Regions from separate parts of the Homo sapiens genome. Here region 2 is linked to region 1. Evidence: promoter capture Hi-C in 16 types of primary human blood cells and fetal thymus (Javierre and others, 2016). All regions are on one chromosome and are shown on one strand. Each heading gives the region's core, a stretch centred on a gene start or on the middle of the fragment in contact. The rest is flanking DNA. Distances are from core to core; before and after follow the strand shown. Region 1 holds the start of CDK16 (cyclin dependent kinase 16). Region 2 holds the start of KDM5C (lysine demethylase 5C).

The links. Contacts are between HindIII fragments. The CHiCAGO score rates a contact against its expected background, and 5 or more counts as called.
Region 2: a contact is called between the fragment with the promoter of KDM5C here and the fragment with the promoter of CDK16 in region 1, in 1 of 17 cell types (neutrophils). The highest score is 5.5, in neutrophils.

Annotation. Positions count from the first base shown.
Region 1 is chrX:47,215,706-47,221,927 of GRCh38, reverse strand. It overlaps CDK16 (cyclin dependent kinase 16), which reads right to left and starts at 3,247. Exons shown (of 16, transcript NM_006201.5): 1 at 2,823-3,247. LOC105373194 (a long non-coding RNA gene) reads left to right here and starts at 3,278. Exons shown (of 3, transcript XR_949047.4): 1 at 3,278-3,425; 2 at 4,794-4,922. RefSeq lists silencers at 2,734-2,803, 2,814-2,923, 2,944-3,103, 3,804-3,913 and enhancers at 2,521-3,160, 3,304-3,373, 3,494-3,613. The HindIII fragment of the contact is 18,663 bases long and covers 1-5,353 here.
Region 2 is chrX:53,220,859-53,226,826 of GRCh38, reverse strand. KDM5C (lysine demethylase 5C) reads left to right here and starts at 1,620. Exons shown (of 26, transcript NM_004187.5): 1 at 1,620-2,087; 2 at 5,911-5,968. The coding sequence starts at 1,938. It also overlaps a transcript of IQSEC2 not described here. RefSeq lists enhancers at 1,299-1,348, 1,226-1,520, 1,359-1,738, 1,979-2,078. The HindIII fragment of the contact is 15,929 bases long and covers 1-3,312 here.

The sequences.
Region 1 (6,222 bases), core at 1,998-4,497:
GGAGGTCGAGGATGAGACTGGGGCTGGATTTGAGGAGAGAAATGGGTCATCTGCTACCTTGAAATCAGGTGCTTCCCCCAGCAGTTCTCGCCCCCACCTGGCTGAACTCACTATCCCCAGGAGGGGTAGGGGCCACCCTAGCAGAAAGACCTCAGATACAGGATGAGGTCCATCCATGGAGAACCCAGGATAACCACAAAACATCCTGACCTGGGAGGCTGAATACTGGGCCTAAGGCAAGGAAGGTAAAGCATGGCCAGCTCCCAAAGACAACCTTGTGTCCCCATATGGCACAGATACCCAGTTGCTTTGCATGTTGTGACAGGGAGTAGGGGAGGGGCTGGGGGAGACTGGAAGTAGGGCTGAATGGAGGATGGGGAGGAAGCCAGGAGGAGCCATGGGTCCACGACCTCTAACTGGAAACCCCAAGGGCTGGACATGCTCTGGAGTTCAGTTTTTTGGGATTTTAGGAAGATGGGGTGTAAAATCTGTATATCACATAACACTCCCAGAAAGGGGGATGGGGGTCTCAGACATGCCCCTGTGAACAGAGATAATTGAACATTTATACGCAAGGAAACTTTTAAATATCATTTCAGTTGAATGAGCTTTTTAGATTTCAAAAAAGGAGGGAGCAAGAAACTGGACATAAAACCTTACCCCAAAAAAGGCACATGTCCTGCCTGACCCTTCCTGATCCCCAAAGACATACACCCATCCTCAGACTACTCTCATACTCAAGGATACTCAACACACCAACCACTAAGGACTTGGTCATCGCACCCTATGTCCTGATCCCCATTAATACACGCTAGACCCTCAAGGAGGCCTCACTACATCTTACCTGCTATTATCTCATATACCCATCAGCATTCAAAGCCCTAACACATAACATACCGCCCTGAACTCTGTCAGCACACACTTAGCCTCCTCTAAGTAACTCTTGCCACCACATTCTTGGGCCCCTCCCTGGCCTAGCTGCTTGTTACCTTCTCCATAGTACTGACTCCCCTCATTAACGTACTGTTCCCCCTACATGATTCTGACCTCTATTAACATGCACTTGGGGTACTCTATAGCTGACCCACATTAGCACTCACTGGACCTTCTTCATGCTGCTCTGAATGCTATTAACATAAAGTGAACCTTACAGATAGATCTCTAACCAGTGTTACCCACACTCAGGCCCCTTCACAGCTACGACCATCCTTAACACACATTCCAGTCCTTCCACTGTCCTGTCCCCTCTGTCAGCACAAACTGAGTCTTCACTCAGGCCTGATTTCTATTAGCACACGCCGGGCCTCACACAGTCCTGCCTCCCCATTAGTGCACCCTGAACCCTTACTCAGCCCTATTCCGCAGGGACACACAAACACACTGTTCTACCATGGCCTGACCCTCATTAGTGCACACAGGTCTCATTCAGCCCTGACTCCCATTAGCACACACTTCAGCCCTCCCTAGCTGTAATCCACTTTAGCACACCGAGATCATCACACATTCCTGTCCTCTATTGCTCTCTGCTCAGAGATATCTCCACAGATATAATCCTTGTTGGTTCACACTTAGATCCCTTCATGAAAGCCCTGATCCCCCTTATTACACACTAGATCCCCTCCGCAGCCCTACCCCCGAGTAGCACCCCCTGGAACCTCAACATACTCTGGTCCTCCGCGGACACAAGGGCACAATCTTCACAAGGTTCTGATGCTTATTAGCATATTCCAGACTTCACACAGCTGACTCTCGAAATGGCACACATTGAAGTGCCTCTATGTCTCTAAACCCACATTAGCAACCACCAGTACTTCTATTACCCTGCTCCTTCCTAGTGTGCCCTCGAGACTCACATTCCCTGTGTCCATGGACACACTCACACCTCACATCACCTTTACCCTTCGTCCACTAAGCCTCTGACAGTGCTAAGACACTTCCCCACCACTCCTTCCTGGGCCCAGACAGACACGCAATTCTCATCTCCTTTAGGCCAGGCTCAGGTATTCCACAGTCCTTCCTCCGTTAGATACCCTCAGGTCCTTCCTCCACTCTGCCCTCATTAGCATATACTGGGTCCCAAACTACCTAGACCTTCGAGGCCACAGGCATACACCCTCTACAGCCATGACCCCCACTGGCGCACACACCACACTCGAGTCCTTCAGCTACCTGCCCTCCACAAGCACACACTGCATTCTCACACACTGCAGGCCCCACGGACAGACACGCAGTATTAACACCATCCAGGGCCTCATCGCCACGCACCAGGCCTCAGAGCCCTGACCCCACCAACACACGTTCTGGTACCTGTGCCACCCTGTCCCCCATGAACACACACCGGGCCTCTCTGCGGACATAATCCCTATGAGCATGTCTTAGAACTTCCTCGACACCCTACCCCCCGTTATACACCCTCGGGTCCCTCACCCGCTCCGCACCCCGCCCTCCTTCCACAAGCACACACGGGGCCTTGAACCTTACACGACTTATTGGCGTGAGGCTTACTGCCACATGCTCCGACCCCCATCAGCAACCCCCCCAAGTCTTTCACCCCATTGTCACCCATTTCCACACCCTTTGGTCCTTTGACTCCCCCAGGTCCCCATTAGCACCCACAGCACTACCCAACCCCAGCTCCCAGGACAGGCCCAGGGCGGGGCCAAGGTCAGGGAGGCCCCAAATGACCCCCCGCCCCGGTGCATTCTGGGAAATTCGCCGGGGGTGGGGGCACCTGCCAGCCCCGCAGCCCAGACCCCTGGGCACCGCCCGAGGTGGGTTCTGAAGGAGGAGGGGCAGCCTCCACGCCTCGGGGACGCGCTCACCGGCGGGGGCGCGCGAGCAACCTCAGAGCCGCGGGGCCGGCGCGGCGGCGCCTGGGGCGGCGGCCCGGGATGAGGCCGCGCGACCTCCTTCTCCTCCTGTTCGCCGCAGGCGCCCGTCCCAGTAGTCTTCAGCCATGGTTGCTGGGCCCGGGCCGCCGCCGGCTGAGGAGGAGGAGGCGGCGGCGGCGGCGGTGGCTGAGGCGGAGGCGGCGTCCCGCTCAGCCGGCCATGAGCTTGGCCGCTGCGGGCGATGCCCCCGGACTCGTTGGCGCCGGCTTGAATCCGAGTGCTCACGGCGGCTCGCGGCACAGAGCGGTCTGATCGCGGAGTGGCGGCGGATCCCAGGGCCGAACAGCCAACGGCCCAACCGCCGCGCGCGCCGCGCTCCGCGCATGCGCACGCAGGCGCTCGGAAGGGTGAAGTGGAAAGGAGGGGACTCACCTCGGACTGCATGTACCAAAGGACCCGTCCGCAGCGGGAGGGGACGCGGCCATCGCGAGCCCAGAGGAGGATGCGGCGCCAAGCCGGAGACGGCACCAGGGAGAACTGTGGAGGCTGTTTAGTACTCAGTTCCGATCTTGGCAGAAGTTTGCTAGCGCCTAGGTGAGCAGTGGCCAGTAACCTGGCGCGTCAATCACCACTCGTTCCCCCTACTCGGTCTCACTTGGTACATCCCCATGGTGGCAAACGGGACTTTTGCAAGGAGGAAAAAAGACAAATGAAGCACTCAGTTCTAGTCCCTTGAGGTGCTTGGGGAGGAAGGCATTTTAAAGGTTCGCGAGAAGATGACTTTTCGAGGAGAGGCAGCCTGAAGAGTTATTGGCCTTTACCACCTTAGCTAGGACGGCCTATCCCCGCCCAACTGCCCCCTCCACCGCTACCTCATTCCCGTAGTGAACGTGTGCAGCCCCGCCCTTTGAGGTTGTCGCCCAGCCAATCTGATTTGCTCTCTGTGGCGAGGCCGAGCAAGAATAAAGGGCGTGGCTGACTGAAGAGGCGTGATTTCGCTCTCTACCCGACTCCGCACGCCTCCGCCCAGGTTTCATAGGTTTTCACCGTCGGCGGGGGTGGGGTCTCCTTTTTGTTCTGAGCTCCTCCTTCGCTATAGGCCGAATATTCCGCAAGGTGATTGGTCATAATTGCGCTCAATCGAGTCTCGTCCCGCCTTTAGCCCGCCCTCCATCTCATACAGCGGGCCTCCCGGGGTGGAACCCAGGCTGAGAAAGAAGGAAAGAGGCGGATCCTTAGAGGCGCAGGAGCCGCTACTGCGCATGCTTGGAACTTCGAGCGGGGCGGAGCCTCTTTTCTGCCTCACACGAGTATTTGCATAGGCGCCGTGCGTTGGATTTTCCTGCCACCTCTCTTGCCCGGCACAGCCCCTCCCGTGCCTCCCCTCACTCTGAGGGTTTTTTGTTTTGTTTTGATGTCAGTCAACACAAGTAGAACACTCCGCGGTTTTATTTCCATTTTATTTATTGGGCGCATGTTGTGTGCCAAGTACTACCAGGCCGACCTAATCCTTCACTTCCTTCTGCCTGGAAAACCACACTATCCCCAAGTCCAGCTCAAAGGGCTGCAACCTCCAGCAGGCCTTCTGGCACATCCTTACACTACCCTGTTCCAAGGCAGCCTCCCCGCCTCTTCCGGGCTTCCCTTTATGGCAGCCTTGATCACAGCAGTTAGGATTTTCAGTAAGGTTTACATTAGTGAGATTTCCCGGGCCATGATGGGAGTGGAAATATTTGACAAAGATAAAAGTCCTCGCCTTGGCATAGAACAGGCTCATCACTTCTCTGACCTCATCTCTTCCTCTTCTTCCCCTGACTCACTGCCACCATACTAGCGCTCTTTCTAGCTGTTTGAGTGAAACGGGCACAATCCAGCCTCAGGGGTTTTGCATTTGCTGTGGTTCCCTTTGCCTGGAATGCTGCTGGCCCACATCCACGTGCCTCATTCTCTCACTTCTTCCAGGTGCTTGCTTCAAAGTCATCTCCATGAAGCCTTTCCGATTTAAAAATTCCTACCTGCACTGCCATCATTCCAGATCCCCAGATCGGGCTCTATTCCTCGCCTTTTGAAGAGCACTGATCAACTTCTAAGGTACAATTTGCTTACTGTGTTTATAATCTATTCTGGGTGTCAACCTAGCAGAACGTAAAACCCCAAGAGGACAGGGATCTTTGTTTTATCCACTGCTGTCTCACGTGCCTAGAAAGTGACTGGCACACAGCACACAACAAATGTTTGTTGAATGCCTGCCAGAGCAGGCCAAGAAAATAAAATGATCAGAAGGAGGTGGGCAAATAGTTCCAGGCAGTGACAAGAGAAACCTTTGTCCCACCCTATCCTTTGTGGCTGCTGGGTGCAGGGGGCTCGGTGCAATGACGCAACCCCCGCCTGCTAAGCCCTGATCTCCCATCTGGCTGGTGTTAACAATGGTAGACTGGTAGACAAACCGCAGAAGTAAAATGGAATGAGGTGGAGGGGGAACAACTAAGATGCAACCAGGATTCATGCATGACTCAAAAGCTTGTTTTGATGGAGAAGGGTGTCAGGCACGAATAAGGTGTCAAGGAGATCCAGGAGTTGTGGTGGGGAAGACATGGAGCCGTAATGGGGGAGGTGCAGTGAACAAGGTGTCTATAGAGTATCCGCAAAGGAGCTGGCATACTGGAGAAAGAAGACAACAGTTGTGTTCAAGCCTCAGCTGCTGTAGTGGTGTGGCCAGTGGACTGCGGTGTGGAGTGTCTAGGGTACTCTAGAGCAATAATGGGAAAGTTCCTGTGGTGGGAAAAACTTTCCCTTTGACAGTATCACCACTAGATACCAAAGGGAAAATGCCTCTGTCCTCAACGTCCTAGTGGGGAAGAAGAAACTGTGGAAGGATAAGGTCACCCAAGCAGAGCAGGCCAAGAAAATAAAATGATCAGAAGGAGGTGGACAAGGGCATATACTGTGCCCAGGACCAGGAACTACTGGCCCAGGAGGCAGCAGATGTGGGCACAGGCTGTGATGGGAATCAAGCCAGTTCAGAACAGGTTGAGCTATTCCTTACACTCAGGTTTGAGTAGAAGAGTGAGGGATCTTGTTTCTAAGTAAGGTAGATAAATTATTGGTTAGTTGAGGAACAGAAGTATGAATGGACTCCTCAGGCACCAGGAGCCAGTACAATAGAAGAAGGCAAAGATGTAGCAGTGGCCAGACTGGTGCTTTCAATTGTCTGGAGCACTCAGCCAAGACCAAGGACAGAGCACGGTAACTCTGCAGTCCCGGTGGGGCTGGTGTTAGGCCTCCTGCTACCTGCTCTAAGCGATGAACACCCCTCAGTCCCCACAGCCAGCTGTCTTCTCCAAAGTAGGAGGCTGAAGATCCTCAAGGGGAATACAGGCAGACCTGGGGC
Region 2 (5,968 bases), core at 371-2,870, 6.0 Mb before region 1:
AGAAGTTGGGACTTGTTCAAGGTTACAAACTAGAAAATGGCAGAGCTGGTGGGACTGCAAGGCATGACTCTTTTGAGCCCAGGGCATGAGCTCCTTCCTACCTGTGTGCCCTGTTCCCTCAGCCAGGATGTCCTTAGCTCAGTCCTGAAGTAGGCAGGATGGACCTAATTGGCACAGTATCTGATTAGGAACAGTTAACTGCACGAAGGTATGACACTCCCTATCTGCCTCGAGCTTACAGTGGATGTTTAATATGTTAAACAGGAAATGTTTGCAAAAAGTATTCATATTTTTCAGTCAATATATACTAAGGACATTTATTCATTTTTCTTTTGTTTACTCAACATTCATTTACTGCTTAACATGCCAAGTGCTAAGGATGTATAAGGCCACATGGTCCCTGCCCTTAAGGAATTCATAGTCTGATGGGGGAAAACAAAATTACTTAATCAGCATGTACGCAAGTACTCAAATATTTGCACAGTAGGTGTTCAAACTATATGCAGTAGGTCCACAGCTGATGAATGACACAGATGATCCTCCAATCAGTAGATGCCTGATGTATATGTACAAAGTACTGGTTTGATGATACTCATTCAAAGTACTGTAGTTGCAATGAACCTATTCAGAAACTGCTCAAGGAACATGCACACGATAGGACTAAATGTACATACAGTTGGTACCAAATGCACAGGGGCTATACACAATAAATACAATAAAAGTACACGGATGTTTGGTAAGTGCACTGTAGGCTCACAAATGGGCAAACAGGTGTTTTACACAGTTGACACTGGATAAATACGCCGTTGCTAAACATCCAATAGTTAAAGTATACATACACACAGGCTTATTTTGTAGGAGTATATGCCACAAATGTGTACATGGTAAAAGTGAATACAGAACAGTTGAAAGCGTTCATTAAAATGCTGACTCCCAGTGACTTTTGGGGGGTAAGAATCGAAACCCCATCTCTCTACCTGTAACCTTGGATGAAATAAAGATTTCCTTCCTTTACTTGGGACTCAGAATCCTAAAAATCCATAATCCCCGGGGAGTGAGCAGCTTCCTGCCTTCCTTATTTCAAAGCCCCAGAGGTGTCAGTGTCTAGAGCTGGAGCCTAGTACATCTCCCCCCATCCCGCGGGCCAGCATAAGGGGTCCTTTGCAATCAGGCTCCCAGAGCCGCCTTCCGCGGCCCATACCGTTAAGACCAGGGAGAAGGGACAGAGAACACTGGTGCGGGGCTAGCGACCTGGTTGAGGTCTGCGGGGGAGTGCCGGTTTGACTCCACCACCCACGGACACCAGCTCCTCTTCCGGTCTCCATAACGCGCATGCGCATCACTGGCCTTTAAACGTGCACCGCCGGTCCATCCGGAAAGACGATCCGGCAAACTAATTACAATCTTGTTCCTCCGCCGTTGCAATGAACTATTTTCTCTCAGTCCGGGGTGGTACTTTTGAGTAACCCCTTCCAAATAGAAACCCATACCAGCCTATTTAGCTCGGTCTCCACTATATGAAGGTTTCCTAGGGCTTGGTGTGACGCAACGTATACGAGGCTCGGAAGGACACCCCGCGGAAGGATCCGGTTTGTTGTGGTGTGGGGAGGGGAGACGCTGACAAACCAAGATGGCGGCGGCGGCGCTGAAGGCCGCGGCGTTTGGGAGGTAACTGTGGTGGCGAAGGCTGCGGTAGTGGGGAGGCAACCACACAGTTTGGAAGAAACGGAGCGGGACGAAGAGGCGGTAGCAGTAGAGTCAGCCTGAGACTCTCAGAGCACGACGGCCACACGCCCCCTTAGGCCCTCGGCGGGCGGCGGCTGCCCCGCTTAGGGCCTAGCCTCCGAGCATTGCCTCGGCTTCAAACAGCGGCGGCGCCATGAGTCCTTAAGGGCGGTCCAAGCCTCCCGATCCCTGGCCCAGACCTCGGGCCCACCATGGAGCCGGGGTCCGACGATTTCCTACCGCCACCGGAGTGCCCGGTGTTCGAGCCTAGCTGGGCCGAGTTCCGAGACCCTCTTGGCTACATCGCGAAAATCAGGCCCATCGCAGAGAAATCGGGCATTTGCAAGATCCGCCCACCCGCGGTAAGCCCCGGGGCCGGTTTTCGCCGGCGGCGAGACGGAATGAAGCAGTAGGATAGCCAGCGGCGAAGTCTGGGGCGGAGGGCAGCTCGAGGTGGGGAGAGGGGGTGGCTGGGACCGTTGTGGTTGCGGCGCGGATCGGAAAAAGGGTGTTGGGCCAGGGGTCCTCTCGTGGTGTGAGGCCCACAGGTGACCTGGAGTCAGAGATCCACCCCCACCCCGGCCCTTCAGAATCACTCCGGGTTTAAGACAGGGATTCCTAGTGGGCCGGAGGGAGTTCACAGAGAGGCACCCCGCACATCTCTTAGCCCGGGCCACCTAGGTCGAGGCTGTAAAAATAAGACGTTTCTCCAATCTGTTGTCATCACTTCCTTTAAGGCAGGCAGCATAGTATAGTATTAATAGAAAGATCGCAGTCCTGAAGGGAGACAGACTTGAGTTCAAAACTCCACTTTGAAGCTGAGCAGCTGTGTGACCTTGGGAAAGTAGAAGTAATCTCTCTGAGCCCGTGAAATGGATCCCAGAAATGGTTATTTAGAGGATTGAATTAAACTAGGTAGCGTCTGTATGTAGTACGCACTAGATAAGTGGTAATTATTGTGACTGTGAGGGTGTTTGATGTGGTCATTGGTTTATTCCTATGTAGGTTGACTCATATTTACTCATACCTTGCCAGGCCAATTCATCTATGATAATATCCTGGCCTGCTGGACCAGTCAGGAAATCAGTCTCACAGGGATTGCTCTGTCTCCCTTGAGGTGGGTTCAGGGAATTGTCCTCTTCTTTTCCTCGTTGAAGGCAATGTCAAGGCCTTTTCTGCACATCATCCCGCAGACTTGACTTCCTATGGAGATGTTTGGACCGGTCAGCTTGGTGGTGGGGTGTGAGTCCTTCTCAGAAGATTTCTACTCTCCTCTGGTCCAGGATGTAGGAGATCCCAGAGGATAGGGCACTCTTGGGCCCGCAGAACAGAATGGAGCCATGGAATTCTGTCCCTTTTGGAACATGATTGCCAGGGGTCAGCAACAAAGGCCATAGCTTTCCTCCTAGGCCTGGCTTCAGGCTAGAAGTCTCCCAAGGGCTAGGGCAAGCTGCTGCCTTGCTGATATGGTGGAAAAGTGATGATAATGTTCAGTGATCAGTTGGGATTCCAAGGGCAGAAATTGAGCTTTGCTGGAAAAGGGTGTTTTTGAGTGGGTGTCTCCTGGCTGAAATGGAATAGGAAGCTTCATTCCCACCTGAGGAGGGCACCACAGGCCTCCTTATCCAACTTGGTGCTTTCTGGTGCTCAGCCACAGATCTAGGATGGTTTCAGATAGATCCTCTAGGAGGTGTTGGGTAAGCGAATTTCTTCCTTCTTGGAGTCTGGCCACAGATTTCTGAGGTATCCTTGTCCATGGTGAGGGAGTGGCAGTGGGTAGAGGGTCAGGAAGGCTAGTGGAAGGGAGAGGCAGGAGTCCTGGGCAGCCTCAAGGAGGCACTCCCTGAAGTGGTTGGGCAAGCCTGTGGGAAAAAGAGGCATAGCTGACGTAGGGGGTAGTTGAGGCCTGAATTCCTTTTTTCTATCTTGGACTGACTTAGGCAGGCTGGCCTTGTGTAGGTGTTGTTACCCTGCTTTGGGGCATCAGGAAGGGGAAGAGTGACATGTCCCAGGTGTGCATGGCCAGCAGGAGGCCGTCCTTTTCACTGCTCAACAGTGTGCTTCTCTCTAATCCAGGATACCTGGCTCTCTGGTTTGGTTTTGTTTTTTCCTTCTCTATGGCAGCTCCTAGGCCACCTTTAGGCAGCTGGCCTTCTTCTGGTTGAAGTTTGAAGTACTCGCTCAAGTGATGCTTGGGCCCAGGGTGGGAACCTGTATATGGGTGGGTACCTGGGAATTGGAGGTTTGCTGGAGGAAGGATGGTTTGGGGCCTGAATTGCTGGGCAGGTGACTGCTACGCTTGGGAAAGATGGGTGGGAGGAGAGTGTGGGTACCCTGAGTAGACCCAGTGGAGTTTGGAAGGATCTTGCTTTCTTCATCAGGTAGCCAGCCTTTTTTTTATCACCACATCCCAGTAATACCAACATACATTTGGCATACAGTAGTCTGGAGATGAAGGCAGGCGGTTTGCAGGGCCTTCCCAGGTATCTGTTGCATCCATGGCTCCTGCCGTAGCATTCCAGGGCTGCCATTTCCTGTCAGGTGCTTGATGTTGCACTGATTGTCTAGAACTTGATTCAGCAGGAAAGAAGGGTGCCCGGAGTTTTGGGTTTGAGCACCTTTTTAGCTGGGTTACCTGTGCTGAGGGGAGTGCCCTATCCTGATGAGAGGCAAGAGGGCATGGGGAGCTTGTCTGGATTTGAGCCATACCATTTTGGCCTGCCTGTTTTTTTTTTTTTTTGTCCCTGCTTACTGAGCCCCAGATGTTTGCCACCTGCTTTGGCTGGTAGGGGCAGGGGAGTGTGGTCTGTGTATGCATGCAAAATATGAGTCCTCTAGCCCATTTTCTAAAAGTGTGTGTGCAGAAGAGGTCAACAGTTTTTCTTCTCTTTCACTGTCTCTCCCCCCCGCCCACGTGTATGCATGTATGTATGAACATTGATGTCTGGTGTAGTGCAAAGGCCTTGGATCAGAGGTCAGAAGACGTGGGTTCTTGGCCCCACCACTAACTCAGCATGTAATTTTGGAAATTTCACTTTTTTTCTCTGAGCCTCACTTTCCCCATTTATAAAATGAGAACATTGGTTTAGGTTACTTTAGGTTGATTTCACCACCCCAGCAGGAGCCAGGGCTCTGGGAAGGAGAGGTCTGCATAGGAGGTTGGAAAGGGGTGTTGGAGAGGGGGTTCTTCACAGCTGACCTTTGGGCAGGACACAGCAAGCTCCAACTTGGCAGAGCAGAGTGTCTCCCACTTTCATGATCTTTCCCTGACTTCCCTCCCCAAATCCTCCCATTCTTTGCCACCACAGTCAGGCATCCCAGCACTTACCCCCACCCCCTGGGGCTTCCTCCCCTGCCTCTTCCTGTACCAGGCAGGTGTATGAGAGAGGATCTACAGGAAGCCTTCCAGACTGGGTGAGTGATACACATACTTGCTCCCTGTTCCTTGCTCTTCCCTGCAGTGTCTATCTCAGGCCCTTTAAACTGAGAGAACAAACATTAAAGGCCCAAACCTTTACGTCCTGCCACAATCGGACCTGAGCTACCCTGCATGTGTATTGTGAGGTGTGGTCAGCCTTAGATGTCAGGTCATAACGGTGACTCCTTTGAATAACATTTTCATTTGAAAACTAGTTTTAATTTTCCATATTGGTCTGGCAAGGAAGCCAGGGCTAGAGTTCATATTCCCACCTCACAGATGAGAAAACAGGTTCAGAAAGCTAAAATCTCATAGCTAGTAAGTAGCGGATCTAGAACATGAACCCATATCTTCTGACTCTAGATCCTGTGTGCTTTCCAGTACTCCCAGGCCTGTGTGTCCTACAGCACGTGCCTAGGGGATAAGGAATTAATGTGGGTGTGGAGAAGGTTTAGGGTCAACAAAACAGAGGCTCCATCTCTTAATTTCTTGAAATCCTGGCACTGTACTGTTGGGTGGGACTCAGGAGAAGTTTCCTAGGGCATGTGCATGGGGCCTTGGGTGCAGACTTGAGGGGCTGCTAGACTCTTGTGAGTTCTGGGGGGAGGTGGGGGTGGGTGGTTGGGTAGGATGTTTGCAGGTTAAAGGGTCTGGAGTGGCTAGAGGTTTGGGAAGGTGCCAGTGGGATTCCGAGCTGCTTTTGGTGACTTCCGGTCTTACACTATGCTGAGATAACTCAAGTCCCTTTCCCCTCTCTACCCTCTCAGGACTGGCAGCCACCCTTTGCTGTGGAAGTGGACAACTTCAGGTTTACCCCCCGAATCC